Linked DNA regions of Homo sapiens: region 2 is linked to region 1. The links are contacts of gene promoters, found by promoter capture Hi-C in blood cells and fetal thymus (Javierre and others, 2016). All regions are on one chromosome and are shown on one strand. Each heading gives the region's core, a stretch centred on a gene start or on the middle of the fragment in contact. The rest is flanking DNA. Distances are from core to core; before and after follow the strand shown. Region 1 holds the start of LANCL3 (LanC like family member 3). Region 2 holds the start of SRPX (sushi repeat containing protein X-linked).

Region 1 (3,731 bases), core at 328-2,827:
TTGTCTGAGGGGACAAAAATCACCTCTAATGTCTGTTATGGTTGAGGGATGAGGAAGGAAGTCTCAAGGAGAAACTCAACATTCCTGTTGCTTCTTTGATGCCTTTTCCTCCTTTAACATATCAAGCTCCCTGCCTAAAAGTGGACTTTTATCATTATTATTATTATTAAAAATAAACCTGTTTTGGCAGCATCAAAGGGGGACGATGGCCATACTGTCCTTGAACTATGTGGATGTGTCAGTCCTGGCAATCATGTTGGCAAACTAAGGTTCTTTCCCAGACTACATCAAGTAAGGGTGGAGGGGCAGGGTATTTAATATCTGCTTCCCAATCATGGTGACATTTAACACTTCTGAGGAAAAAAAAATGCCTCCAAACTGGCCTTTCAAGTAAGTGGAGTAGTTACTCTCCCCACAAAGTATCAGAAACTGTTCTATGAGCCACTTACTCCTTTATGTCTTGCACAGTCCCTATCAAAAGTCAAATACTCCTGGGAGACGTGACCTCTTTAGTCTTCAAGAGTCAACACTTTGGGAAAGGCAGAATTATTTCAAACAGCTGAGCACAAGAAAGGCAACTAGCTTGTGTAATTGTTCATTTTCTGTTTTTTCCTACTGAATTGTAAGCTACAAGGGGTCTAGGACCATGTCTATCTTATTCATCCCTCTATTTCCAGGTTTCAGGACACATAGGAGACCCTCCACAACGCCCTTGGGAAAAAAGCAGAAGAGGACAAACATGGGAAAAGAAGGGAGGGAAGGGGGAGATAAAAAGCCTAATTAAATTCTCACAGAGCGTTTATCCTAATATTAACTAGTTAATGACCTCAAGATATGTATTGAGCTTTTACTATGCACGCATGGCAGGAGGGGCGTGCCCCTTCCTTGCCTTAACCTGGTGTGGTTCTTTGACTTTTTACTCCTGTATACTCGAAGAAAACAATACAAAAATCAAAGCTGGGAAAAAAGTTCCTGTATGGGGTATTTCACCGTTTTAATGCATTAAACATGATGTGCTCAAATGCCCCAGCCTTTGGGATTGAAACATTCATAATGAGAACTCCGAAGCGACCAAGATGAAATACAAACTTCAAAGAAGGCGCCCAGTTTTGTCTTGCTACTCTAGCCTAGTTCAGTGGCGCCTCAAACTTTAATGTGCATGCGAATCACCTGGCAATCTTGCTGAATATTCAGATTTGGAGTCAATAGGTCTGGAGTGAAGCCTGAGATGCTGCGTTTTTAACATGCCCCCGGGTGATGCTGATGCTTCTAACCCAAGGACCACACTTTGAGTATACAAGGGACTGGAGACCATCACCTCTACCGCCAGGTGTGTGTATGCTGAGTCCCAGCGTTCCAGATCAGTGTCCCGCACGTCCTCGGCCTTCTGCCAGTAGGGGAGGAGTCGGGGGCGGAGCGGGAGGAGTGGCGCGGGCCCCGCGTGGGTCCTGCCAGAGATCACCTCGGCCCCTTGAAGAGGCAGCCAAGCTGCGGCGGCGCAGGAGGGGGCGGGTTCAGCGAGGGCGCGGCCTCTGAGGGGGGGCGCAGGACACGCATCCCCCGCGATCGCCCGGGCCACTCGGGAGCCTCGCGGCAGCCCGGCGCCCCACTTGGCCATCCGCTCCTTGCCCGCCTCCTCTTGTCACCTCCCGTCTCATCCTTCTCGCTCCTTCCCCGCCGCATACACCGGCATCCGAGTGCCTCAGAGAGCCGGAGGTGGTGTGCGGGGCTGCAGGGCACGACTTCAAGCGGTCCTCAGCTCCGCACTAGGGGGCACGGGCAACAGCATGGACACCAAGCGCTGCTTCGCCAATCGCTTCGATGACTACCAGGGCAGCCTGCTGGCGGGCCAGTGTGAGGAGGCGGTGGCGCCCTTGGTCACCGCCACCATCGAGCGCATCCTCCAGGAGCTTCCCCCACTCGGGGGCGGCGCGGAGGCCCGAGGGGCGACGGCGGGGGCTAGCGCCTGCCAGGGGGGGCTTTATGGCGGCGTGGCCGGAGTGGCGTATATGCTCTACCACGTCTCGCAGAGCCCGCTTTTCGCCACGGCCCGGGAACGCTACCTGCGCTCGGCTAAGCGCCTCATCGACGCGTGCGCCCGCGCTGAGGAGTGGGGCGAACCGGACGCCGACACCCGCGCCGCCTTCCTGCTCGGGGGCGCGGGCGTGTACGCCGTGGCCACGCTCGTATACCACGCCCTGGGCCGGTCCGACTACGTGCAGCCGCTGGGCAAGTTCCGGGCTCTGTGTGCCGTCTGCGCGCCGGTCTCCTTCCTGGAGTGCGGCTCCGACGAGCTGTTCGTGGGCCGCGCGGGTTACCTGTGTGCCGCGCTGGTGCTCAAGCAGAAACTCGCCCAGGAGGTAAGAGGTAGCCCGGGCCGCGGGAGGGCGCTCGCCGCCTGCCCGGCCTCCTTTCCCCGGACTCCGTGGCTCGGGCAGCACTGTCCCGAGTTGCTCTCCAAGTCTTTGTTACTCTTGGTGTGGTGCTAGCATTTCTTCAGTCCCTTGAGGTCTATCTCCTGCTTTTGTCCCTCTTCTTTCCTGTCGTTTTCAGTCTCTCATTTGTTGAGATTCGGCGTCTCTGCGCTTTGTTCGTGTTTTTACGTGGCATCACTCCAGATGCCTGTTAGCTTTCTGGGGGATGACAGTGTGGCCCTTTCAAGTAAGATGAAAACCTCAGAAATGGAAGGGATTTCCTTTCCTTTGACTCTGCTGTCAAAAGCTGAGGCATCCTCGAATGTTAGAGTGCTAGAAAGTAATGGAACTTTTCGGGGCCGATGTGGAGGTAAGTTGCTTCTGGAGCCCTGGGTCTGTAACCAAGAATAACTGCTCAGCTGTGGGTCTGATGTGTTTACTGTTTTGCTTACTATTCAGTTCAACCCATGGCTCTTATTAAATGCATATCTGATAGGAGTGTCCCCTTTAAAAATACATAAATGTAGACGGAAACGTACCCGGAAATGTACCCCATTGTGGTTGAATGTGCATTATTTCACTTAAAAATATTTGCTTAGGATGGGCAAGACCACAGCTTTCTTGACAGGGCAGCTTTTCTTGATGAATAACTTTACAGTGGCTCCTAAAAGTGAATTGGTTTTCACATACATATTTTTTCCTGGACTCACTTTGAAATCAGCATGTGGTTATTAGAAGAGAATATGCCAGTTCCTGTGGAGTAGGAAAAAGAACAAAACTCTGAAGGATCATAGTGACTAGAACGGAGAGAGAGGCACTTTCATTCATAATCCCCTGGAGCCAACTACTGTTCTAGGGAGGAAGTGACACATTTAACTTGGCTTTATTTAGGTGAGAAAGGCGTTTGAAGAAAAATTAAAGGTATATAGAGTGTTTTAAAAGAGTAATTAACTTAGATCACCTCTACAGAGGCAGACAGGGTTTTTTTTTAATAGCAGGTGAGGTTGATTCAAGTGAGAAAAAAGATTACTAAAGAATGTGCACTGTGTTAGCTGGGCAGCAAAGGTTTATGTCACAAAGTTGTCTTGAAATAGTTTGCTCTGCTTCTGAGTCACTGTTAACTGCCAGCAGTTTTTCAAATGCCCTTCCAGTTGTAGAAAACCTTTTAGAAGGCCACAGAGATATTTACATATCATTTGCATTGCATTTGCATCTGCTCCCCTCACCTTGTAGTCTGGCAGCAGGCAATTTTCAAATTTTTTTTTCCAATTGTTTTCCTTAATCTTGCCTCTTCCCCTTTCCATGCCTTGAGGCCTT
Region 2 (4,214 bases), core at 175-2,674, 650 kb after region 1:
ACCATGGGAATAACAGTTGCCTGGCAGTAAGGATAAAATTTCCTTTCCACTTTACCCTGAATCAGTTCCTACAAAGCAGCTTAAAACTTAAGAGTCAGCTCAAAACACAAATGTTCCTGTTTATTAATTTACAAATTTGTTCTATTCATTCATTTATTTAGGTGCGTGCAGAGAATTTCCCGCAGCCATCCCTACATCTCCCAAGCACACTGCTAGAAAGATGGGCATCCTCTATCCTTCTACCAGAACTCAGTAGGTTCATTTCTCATACCCTAGATTTAAGCTGCCCACGGTGTTGAACGCAGAGCCAAATATTTGCACGCCCTATAGCCGACGTCACCCACTTTCCCATTAACACTAAATTAAAACGCATCCATGGATTTCCTCTCCATTCCGAGGCAACAGGAGTGCATGGCACATTGCCCTACTCCCCTGAAGCTCTTCGCTAACCTAAGACTCCAGGGTGAGGAAGTTAGCTGGAGCTTTTTAAAGTGCATCTCCAAAGAGAATTTTGCTCACACCATGAGAGCCCCCAAGAAACACCAGGGCCCCCTTAGATGCCGGAGACCACGCCCTCCAGGAATAAGCCGCACCCTCTGCCCAGCAGATCCTTGCGCGAGTAGCCCTCTTTCCCTGGGGCTAATCAAGTGCATGCCACATGTCACCACTCTCAGCTGGCAATTCTTCCTCAGAGGCGCAGACTTTCTCGGAATCCCCAGCAGGGGGGGTTAAGAGATTCAGGGGAGGCCCCGCCCGTGCCTTCCACAAAAGTCGCTTTACCGTGGCTCGTGTCCTGCGGCCCCAAGGGGGTAGCCTGGGACGTGTAGTGGGAGGGCATAGAGGCTCCTTCCAGGACAAGCTGCCAGCCTCCAGTGGGCAACCATGTGAGAGGCAAAATTCTGGGGGTGAGAAAGTAGCAAACTAGTCTGCGGCCAAACTTTCTCTGTGGAGCCTCCTACACCGAAAAGGGTTTGATTGGAACTCTGGAAGCCCGGACGCAGAAGGTGCTAGGGCTCCCGTCGCCGCGAGGGCGCCCCGCGCCTGGAGATGGGATGGTCAGTTCTTCCCGGCGCGTGCCCAGACACCAGCCCCGATCCGCATCATCCCCACCCTCGGGCTGCGAAAGAGGAGTTCTGCGCAAACAAAGGGCGCCCCCGGCACCTCCCTCTATCCCGAGCGAAGGGTCCCAACGGCGACTCCGGGGGTCTTTGGTGCCCAGCTGAGGAGGCAGCCACGCCTCCGATCCTACCTGGGAAGCTGCGGCTGGGCGGGACGCGCAGCAGCAGCAGCAGCAGCAGAGGCGGCAGCAGCAGCAGCAGCGCGGGCCGATGTGCGGGGCTCCCCATGGCGAGCGGGCGCTTAGCTCGCCTCGGCAGCGCAGCGCGCTTCCCGGGGGCGGCAGGAGACCGAAGAGACCAAGGGACTGCGTGCTAGCGGGCGGGCGAAGGCCGGGCTGGAAAACTCCTCCTCTCGCCTCTTTCCCTCCCTCCTTCCTGCCTGGGGCCTGCCCTCCTTTCTCCGCCCCCCCTGGAACACTGCGCGGTTCGGGGCTCTGACCCACCCACCTCCTCCTTTTGTGCCAGCGCTTTTTCTGGCCAGAGAGCGCTGGAGACAAGCCCCAGCAGAGCGAAATATCCTGAAGTAGCTTTCTTTGCCCCAATTTGCGCGCCCCCTCACCCGGAATACACACACGGTATTCAATACAACCGCCTCGAACATCCCAGACGTCTAGAAGGATACCATCTGTGCAGAAAGCTGCGTGAGTCACACGGAAACAGAAGGGGCAACCGAGGGGATTCAGAGTGGCCCACTGCGGCCGGATACTATGGCCATGTTCTCTGTTTTGATCCTCACGACCATGCCCCAAGTTCGCTATTACCATGTCCACTTTCTCCAATAAGACACCGACGCTTAGAAACTTGCCCAGATTCACCCCCGTTACTGGCAGAGCAGGGACTGGAACTTAGGTGTGTAGTTCTGCCGACGTCAAAGTCCATACTACAGATTTTTTGTTAGTTTGTTTCTCTTTTGCAAAGGAATAAATCAAGGACTGGACCGGGTGCGTGCCTGCTCTGCTGCGGTTTAGGATGGGGCTTGAGGTTCTCCTTCCAGGATCAGCTGATGGGAGAGCACAAGGCACAGAAAGTTCTCTGTCTCACCCACAGCCATGGGGATCCAGCTGTAGGTTCCTGCAGCCAGATTTCCTCATTTCCTGGGTTGTTCTCAACCACCCCAAAGATACCACGACCAGACTGGAGCCTCTTCCCTGTGGCTTGGCATCGCTGGATCCTGGCATCAGGACAGGGTTTCTAGGCTGCCCGCAGGACGGATCTGGTTTCTTTGAGGCATTTGAGTAAGCCTCTCATAGTTTTGTTTGTTTGTTTGTTGTTTTGGTTGTTTAGTTCTTGTTAAATCAGTAAGGCAATACGTTGCCCCTTTGCTGTCTCAGAAAGATCTTAGCTAAGGCAAATTTTAGTTGGAGTTGCTGCATTAGGTTGTGCAGTTTGGGCACTGTACAAAGGCATCCAGAGGAAGGGGCAAGTGGGAGCCAAAATCCAAATGCCTTTGGGTTCAGGGAGCTTTGCGTCTTGGCAGGGGCCACATCCACTAGAAGGGCATCTTTCTCTCTGCCACAGTAGTCTGGTCTGATAGCTAGGCTAAGAGCCCTGGGGGCACTCACCTAGAAGTTCTGAATTTGTTTATCCAGAAGGAGTGCCATTTCCCAATTCTCACAAAAGCCCCAGACTTGAACGTCCATCTTACCCTCTCTAGCACTTGGGGGGACTTCGCTCCATCTCCTGTGGGTTTCTCCACTGCTGCTACCTCTTCAGGGAACCAACAACCCTTAAATAACCCCCTAGTCGCAAGGAAATGGGGGAGGTCAGTCTATTCTGTGGCCTCCATCAGACCAGACTTTCCAGGGAGTCATTCTCAACCTTGTTTATGTGGGTCACCTGGGGAGCTTCATGAAAATACCATATCCAGGCTCTACCTCACACTAATAAAATCAGAATCTTTAGGAATGTGACCTGGAGTTTGACCAGATGCATATTTTTGTCTCTCCCCAATCCGCTAAGCTCCACGGTATAAGTTTTAGTATAGGATAAAAATTCTAGACCAGGAGTTTCTCAACTTGGGCACTATTGATATTTGGGGCTAGATGATTCTTTCTTGGGGAGGGGGACTGCCTTGCACGTTGAGAGATGCATCGATGGCCTCTATGCAACAGATACCACTAGCAATCCCCCTTTCCCCAGTTATGGCAGCCAAAAAAATGTCTCCAGACATTGCCAAATGTCCCCCAGGGGAAAAATGCCCCCAATAGAGAACTACTTCTTTAGGTCTGTAAACAAGGGTTAATGTGCACCCCAAATTCCAGGTCCAGGATAGCCTGGCCAGCAGCCTTCCTTTCCTATGTCACCTCTGAAGCAATGTGTCTTCACCACAACCAGTATACATTCTATTACTGGGCTGAGAAGGAACTTCTAGCTCACTTCTATCCACTGATTCTGGCTGGATTACAAGAAACACCACACTTACTGTTGACTTGCTCTCTGGCCTTTGAATGTCCTCACCACAAAGAAAGAAATCAGAAATGGATGAGGTGATGGTCACGCAAAATACTGACTTGACGCTTGGTGCAGTGGCTCATGATTGTAATCCCAGCACTTTGGGAGGCCAAGGTAGGCGGATCACTTGAGGTCAAGAGTTTGAGACCAGCCTGGCCAATATAGTGAAACCCCATCTCTACTAAAAATACAAAAATTAGCCGGGAGTGGTGGCACACACCTGTAGTCCCAGCTACTCGGGAGGCCAAGGCAGGAGAATCACTTGAACCTGGGAGGCAGAGGTTGTGCCACTGCACTCCAGACTGGGCAACAGAGCTAGACTCCATCTCAAAAAAAAAAATACTGACTTGATTTTTTCTTTTTCTTTTTCTTTTCTTTCTTTCTTTTTTTTTTTTTTCTTTGACAGGGTCTTATTCTGAATTTGAATTTGTTTATCCAGAAGGAGTGCTGTTTCCTGGCTGGAGTGCAGTGGCATGATCATAGCTCATTGCAGCCTCAAACACCTGTGCTCAAGCAATTCTCCTGCCTCAGCTTCCTGAGTAGCTAGGACTACAAGCATGTGCCACCATGGCCAGCTAAGTGTTTTTTGTAGATATGGGGGTCCCATAAATATGTACATTTACAATGTGTCCATTAAAAAAATAA

The links. The method cuts DNA at HindIII sites, captures the fragments that hold promoters and counts their contacts. A CHiCAGO score of 5 or more calls a contact.
Region 2: the fragment with the promoter of SRPX here is called in contact with the fragment with the promoter of LANCL3 in region 1 in 8 of 17 cell types (monocytes, M1 macrophages, M2 macrophages and 5 more); the score reaches 9.8 in monocytes.

The regions. Positions count from the first base shown.
Region 1 is chrX:37,570,084-37,573,814 of GRCh38, forward strand. It overlaps LANCL3 (LanC like family member 3), which reads left to right and starts at 1,578. Exons shown (of 5, transcript NM_001170331.2): 1 at 1,578-2,360. The coding sequence starts at 1,788. The HindIII fragment of the contact is 8,836 bases long and covers 1-3,731 here.
Region 2 is chrX:38,219,447-38,223,660 of GRCh38, forward strand. It overlaps SRPX (sushi repeat containing protein X-linked), which reads right to left and starts at 1,425. Exons shown (of 10, transcript NM_006307.5): 1 at 1,250-1,425. The coding sequence starts at 1,346. LOC124905176 (a long non-coding RNA gene) reads left to right here and starts at 1,462. Exons shown (of 2, transcript XR_007068212.1): 1 at 1,462-2,353; 2 at 3,976-4,214. The HindIII fragment of the contact is 8,549 bases long and covers 1-4,214 here.